Regions from separate parts of the Homo sapiens genome. Here region 1 is linked to region 2. The links are contacts of gene promoters, found by promoter capture Hi-C in blood cells and fetal thymus (Javierre and others, 2016). All regions are on one chromosome and are shown on one strand. The core of a region is centred on a gene start or on the middle of the fragment in contact, and the rest is flanking DNA. Distances in the headings are between cores, read along the strand shown. Region 1 overlaps SPG11 (SPG11 vesicle trafficking associated, spatacsin). Region 2 holds the start of DUOXA1 (dual oxidase maturation factor 1).

Region 1 (3,183 bases), core at 137-2,636, 540 kb after region 2:
GTGAGCTGACTACCAGTGTTCTTTCTCATAATAATTCCCTTAAACAACTTTGCATTAAGGGAGATGCTGCAAAAGCAAAATGATCTTTTTACTTAGAGTAGGTAAGTCCTATTGGAATTTAAGAGAAGAGGATGAGAAATGGACAGGGAGGACCACATAGGGCATAGGAAAGACAGTAGAGAAGGAAATTCATTCCAAATAGAGGTAAGAAGATAGCAGTAATGTGACACATGATTTTATAAACCATTCCTTAATTTAAGATCTTGGCAGTCTTGAGAATTCCATTGAAGGGAATATTGTCTTCTAAAACCTACGTCACAGCCAAAAAGCCCTGCATGTTAAACTTACCTTCAGAATGACTTTTATGGTGTGTTCAGAAGTATACAGGAAGTATTCAGCCAAGACTAGGGCCTAACTCAGCACTAGGCACAGAGGTACTGAATTATAAGTTTTTGGTGCCTATTAACATATACGTGTTTTGAAACCCGGCAGTTAAGTTTCTATTCCACCAAAACGCCCAGTATTTTTTGTGATTATGTTGTATGAAGTCTAGAGTGAACTACGAGACTATAGTGACTGAGAACCAAATATTAGTCTTCCAAAAATAATACGAAGCAAGAACCAAAGTAAAAATCAGGAATGAAGTCACAAAAGAAGCATCTGTTGGGCGCTATCATCATAGCTGTAATCCCAGCACTCAGGGAGGCAGAGGTGGGAGAATGGCTTGAGGCCAGGAGTTCGACCAGCCTGGGCAACATAGTGAAGACCCTGTTCTTTACCAACACAAAGGAAAGAAAAAAAAACAGCAGCAGCAGGTAAGAAAGCACCACTCCTCTGAAATCAGCCTTTTCCTGCAGCATCCTAGAAGATATTTTTGCCACACCTACTTGTAGAAATGCAGCCTGCCACTTGAATTCATCTTCCTATTAATATTTTTAGCATTCAGTTGAAATGATGTAAATCCAAGCTTCTTAACTGAGACCGTTCTCTAACAAGAATAAACTACAAGCAAAGTGGTAGAACTAGCGAAGTAATGTTAGGCACGTCTTTCTAAGCGGTTTTTATAATGTGAATTTAAAATCCTCTGGATTCAAGGGCAGGCCTACATCCCTCTTTAAAGAAGTTGCTAGGCCAGGCACGGTGGCTTACGCCTGTAATCCCAGCACTTTGGGAGGCCAAGGCAGGCGGATCATCAGGTCAGGAGTTCGAGACCAGTCTGACCAACATGGTGAAACCCCATCTCTATTAAAAATACAAAAAAATTAGCCAGGCGTGGTGGCGTGTGCCTGTAATCCCAGCTACTCAGGAGGCTGAGGCAGGAGAAATCACTTGAAGCCGGGAGGCAGAGGTTACAGTGAGCCAAGATTGCACCACTGTACTCCAGCCTAGGCAACAGAGTGAGACTGCGTCTCAAAAAATAAAATAAAAATAAAGAAGCTGCTAAGTGAAACATCTGGTTAATTTTACAGTGACTCAAAGGGCTATTAATTTGACAGTCACTAAGTAGGAATATTTTACATTAACTCTGTAGTTAGCATTCAGTCTTTAGGACTCTTGCCCATCTTTTTCACACATGCAGCTCTATACCAGAACTTTCCACAAAGAGACAATGTGCAAAGCTGCTGAGGAGGGCTTGTTTTTGCCAGTCCTCTGAGCCCCATTACCAGTTCCTGCCATTTGGAAAGGAACTGAGTAAGTGCCTCATGACAGGCGATGGCTTTTGAGGGAATTTTAGCTTTCTTAGAGGTTCCCAGATTTGGAGGTTTTGATTTGCTATTCTCATGAAACTGCTTTCCCTAAGCTTCTCTTTTTCTTTCATAGCTTAACACAGCAGCCACAAAGGTCCACCCTGTCATCCCTGCCATGTGGCTGGAGGATCAGGTGTGTTTCCTTTTGAAGCTTATGCTACAGCAGTGTAAGACCCAGTATGAGCTGGGGAAGCTTTTACAGCTCTTTGTTGAAAGAGAGCATCTCTTCTCTGATGGTAAGACAATCCTTACAGTTAAGTTGCTATTAAGAAGTTAGCTTTCTTAATCTTGAAAATACTTTAGAGGGGTAGTTAGGAAATTAAAATGCATGTAACATTAACTTACAGTCTACAACTGGGAGTAAACAAGTTACAGAGAACTTTAAATTGTGGTTAAAATATTCAAGAAATAATACAACAGCATAAAACATAAATGATATAACCAATCATCTCATTCTAAGCAGTTACCAAATAGCCACATTTCCTCCTGGCTGGCTTCTACATTACCCTGTTGTGGGGGTCCAACCCACAGACGCTGACCTAGCAACAGATCAAGACATACACTGACAGAGATATTTTGCCTGTCAGTCCAGCTAAGGGGCTCTGCTCTGAGTCTGGAGCATTGCTTCATAAGCTGGCAAAGTTTGCATTTATTTAGTACAGATTAAATGGCAAAGGTTTTGAGTAAACACCATTAGACGGTAATTAACATTGCCGATCCCCTGAGTAGAGAGCAATTATGTACCCGCGGTTGATCAAAGGTTGGTCTTAGGACCACATGAGTAAACAAGCTATTTAGATATACTTCCCCACATTCCCTTGTTATTTGCTTTTTTGCTATCAACTAAAGGTAAAGAGGATTAGGCTGCCTTCAGCCAAATCTGTCACTGAAGCTATGCAAACGGCCCAGCCTTCTGAGAAGGTTTGTGTTTATTTCCTATAACTATCTTATATAATTTTTCCTATATTAGTATATAATTATTCTTATATAATATTTCCTATAACTATTATAGTTTTTCCTCTACAATTTTTCCCACCACCCTGACTTAACTCCCACACCCTGTCACTATCTTCTTCTCTATGGCAAGTAACCTTAGCATTGCTCAGGGTCACAAACCCTATTTCAGAAATGCACAATTCATTTTTAAAGTTTCAGAGAAAATTGTGCTTGTTTTTTTGTTTGTTTTTTTTTTTGCAGATTCCTCAAGATGTTGGCAGTCTCTAAACTTGTTGCTGATTGACTCAAACAAATATTGCCTTACTATCTTTTCCACTTGTTTGATAATTTCAAGTTTTTTATTGAATGATAATGTTGTTCTTTTATACTATATTCTGACAGTTTGGCTACTAGGGTTATTTTCTCACATTTAAACTCACAGATGTTCAGCTGGAGAGCTCAGATTTGCACAGAACACTGACAGAATCCTGAGCTCAGA
Region 2 (3,321 bases), core at 631-3,130:
GGCAAATACTTCATGAGCACCACTACATACCAGCCACTGACATAGACACTGGAGATTAAGTGACGAACAAAACAAACAGAAATCCCTGGTACATACCTTCATGGACTTTACCTTCTAAGATTAGTTGGAAAACCCTGCTTTGGCCCAGCACTCTGCAGAGTGTGTTCCTTAGGCAGGGCCCTGCTTGGGGATCAGGAGACTAGGCTGAGGTCTCAGTGCTGCTCCCAGTCCACTGTGGGATCTTAGATAAATCACTTCTCCAATCTGATCCTTGTTTTCCTCTTCCAGCTATGGGAGCAAATATGCCTGAACTGTTTACTTCTAAGCATGGTTGCCAGAATCAAATGTGAGAAGGAGGTTTAATTCAAAGCAAGTGACAGGTGTTGGGCAAATGTGATATAGAGAGGGTAGGCGGGAGCTTGTCTCCTCTGGTTGGATCCAGAAGGGATGCACTACCAGGTGCTCATGTATTTAGTGCAAGCTTCCTGCTCTCTCTCTCTCCACCCAGAGTCAACAGGGAAACAGAGGCAGCAGAGGACTCAGGCTGGGACTCCTGAGTGCGAGTAAGGAGTACCTAAAGCCGGCGAAGACCTCCTGAAGGCAACCTGGAGATTGGGGTTAGGATAGAGGAAGAAAGGAGCTCAGGGAAAGCCTCATCCCCAGCCAAACATCAGGGTTCCTGGATGGGTTGTCTAGAGGAGAGAACCCAGGGAGTGACCTCATCCCTACTCCATCTCCTATTAAATGAAAAAACCTAGGCCCTGCCATAACTGGAAAGCTCAGTATCACCTGCTGCATTTCACAGAGTCTGTCCAGGTGCTGGCCTTTAATAGTGCATGAAGAGCTGGGCTCTGGATGGTTGAAGCTGTAAAGCTGGATATACGGAAGTAGCCACAGCGGTCCTTCCCTGATCCCAAGATGTCATTCCCCTCCCCCGCCACCACCATGTCTTCAGGATCCTGGGCCTCAACGCTAATGTACCACTCAGCCCCTAAGGGCATGAAATGGGCTTTCAGACCAGGCTGTGTGGGGATGACCTGAAGAGGAAGGTGGACATGCTTAATAACCACTCCTTGTGGGTGGGTTGCCCTTAATGATTTACACAACGATGGGGCAGTAACTTCTCAACAACCTTGACAGGAAGGTTGCCCAGGACAGGGCAGTGAAGCCCCAGGCAGAGCCAGCGGCAGAACCAGAGAGAGAACACAGGCCTGCCTGTTCTTGCCCCACATGGCTGCTTTTCCAGCCTGAAGCCCTAGAGTGGTGACCCTGGTGGCCCTGAGGTGGGAGGAAGATGGGTCAAGGCCATCTTGGTCCTAAGGGAGGGCTGAGGGGGAAAGCTTGGATCCTAAAGCCCAAAGCTCCCTCCCTGGTATGTTGTGCTGGTGCCAGGAGAAGAACCCGCAGGCCCAGGCAAACTAGGCCACCCAACATTCCCAGGTCCCAAAGAACCCAGTCTCTCAAAACCTTGATTGGGCAGAGGACAGGCCCTAACAGGACCGGTTTTAGCCTTAGGATAAGATCGGAGGCGCAGGGGGCTAGCATTCCCCTTTCTTCCATAACGTGGAGGAGCTGCGGCTCCCCCGCCACCCTGCCCTTGGAGCTCCCTCCCCCGGAGCGCCCAGGCCCGCGGGCCGGGAAAAGCCCTCCCAAATCTGACCTGCGGCCACGGCGTCACCAGAGCCCGGGACTGCAACTTGTCTCCGGCCTGGCTGCCAGCTGGGCCCGCGGAGCCCTCTCTCGTCCGGTGCCTCTGCAGCTCTGCGCCGGGACGGGCGGGGCTGGGGGTGAGGAGGGGAAGGCACGGCCCGGCTCGGCTCAGCCACGGGGCGGGGCGCAGTGGGGCGGGATGGAGTCTGGCGCCTGGGGAGGCGCGGAGGTGCTTCCAGCGGACGGCAGCGCGCGAGGTGAGACGGCGAGGGCTCCCGGGGCGCAGGTAGAGATGTTCCGTCGGTGCCGAAGGCCCGGCTAGTGCGGTTGTGTGGACGGCGAAAAAAGCAAGTCCGCCTTCACAAGTCCCATGGGGCTGGGGAGAGGGTGGGAGGCGGAGAGGGTATGGGGAGGGGAGACTCTCCTCAGATCCTCTCGACACCGTCGGGTCTGGGCTCCAAGTCCAAGGCCATCGATCACCTGCCACCCACAGACCAGGCCAGGCGTCAAAGCAAGTCACCCATCCGACCTAAACCCCTCTAAGACCCCGGAGTCACGTCTCCCTCCGGGGATCCTCGTGAGGTCTTGGGGGTCCCACCGCCCTGCGAGCCGCGCCCGCGCCCCGCCAGACCCGGAACTGCGTCGCTAGGTTTGCGCTGGAGCTGCTGGGATTGCTGGGCATGGGTGGGGGGGCGCAGAGGAGGAGGGGGGATTGGAGGGACCTCTGCGGAGCTGGCAGACCCCGGTACTACTGTCCTGGCGCACCCAGCCCTTCTCTGTACCAGGCCGGGAGAGGGAGGCGGCGCCGCAGAGCCTCGGGTGCAGTCTGAGAAGTTTGGGAGTGACTTGAAGAGTGACTGGAAGCACCCCAGACCCGGTTTGTCCGGTCACAGCCGGGTCCTTACGTGAGTTAGGAGAGGAGTGGGGGTCGGACGGGAGCCCCACTGAGAGTAAGGGCGCGCGTTTGTTCACAGAACGTCGGGACCTGGTTCCCTCTTTAATCACACCCCCGGGGGCGCTTCGTGTGAGGTTCCACGGGGGAAGGCGAGAGGCGCAGGCTGCCACACACGCACTGTTTGGAAGAGGGGAAGGTAGGGAATAGTGGTCCGGGTGTGGGTGGTGGGGGATGCGGCTGCTTAGATCTGTGCGGTCCAGGTGATTTTGGAGGGGGTCTTGAAGTGCTTGCTCCCGCCCTGGCACCTAGGGCTGCACTTCCTGCTTTCATCCAGACCAAGTTCGGATCAAGTGGGAGTTCTTCAAAGAGAGAGTTTGGTAAGAAACTGGGGAGGCAAGGAAAACCTCTTAAGGCCATAAATGCCACAAGGTTTATAGACATCGAATCGCCATCCCAGTTTAACTCGAGTCTGGATACTTTGGCTTGCATGATTCTGCACCCTTGAATTCCTTATCCACATCAGCCCTTACTGGGGAATCCTGCCTCCAATCCACTTTTCAGATCTTGTTCAATTTCTCCACTTAACTCCTATTTTTGTGCAACAACACACATATACATTCATACACAGATACACACGTACACACAGACCCCTTCCTTGAAGAGGAAAGTCTAGCACAGGAGTTCCTGACAGGGTCCCCTTAGCTAGCCACAGCTGTAAACGTTTAATGGGGTCTACCCCAATCAGAGAAAAAAGCATCACATTGCAGTAGCTGTGC

The links. The method cuts DNA at HindIII sites, captures the fragments that hold promoters and counts their contacts. A CHiCAGO score of 5 or more calls a contact.
Region 1: a contact is called between a fragment that was not itself captured here and the fragment with the promoter of DUOXA1 in region 2, in 2 of 17 cell types (naive B cells and erythroblasts). The highest score is 6.5, in naive B cells.

The regions. Positions count from the first base shown.
Region 1 is chr15:44,588,053-44,591,235 of GRCh38, reverse strand. SPG11 (SPG11 vesicle trafficking associated, spatacsin) reads left to right here. Exons shown (of 40, transcript NM_025137.4): 28 at 1,822-1,984. Among named protein-coding and RNA genes, the nearest start is that of EIF3J, 52 kb to the right of the region's middle. The HindIII fragment of the contact is 834 bases long and covers 970-1,803 here.
Region 2 is chr15:45,128,438-45,131,758 of GRCh38, reverse strand. DUOXA1 (dual oxidase maturation factor 1) reads left to right here and starts at 1,880. Exons shown (of 9, transcript NM_001276266.2): 1 at 1,880-1,907; 2 at 2,144-2,299; 3 at 2,625-2,741. It overlaps DUOX1 (dual oxidase 1), which reads right to left and starts at 1,765. Exons shown (of 34, transcript NM_175940.3): 1 at 1,661-1,765. The HindIII fragment of the contact is 6,225 bases long and covers 1,343-3,321 here.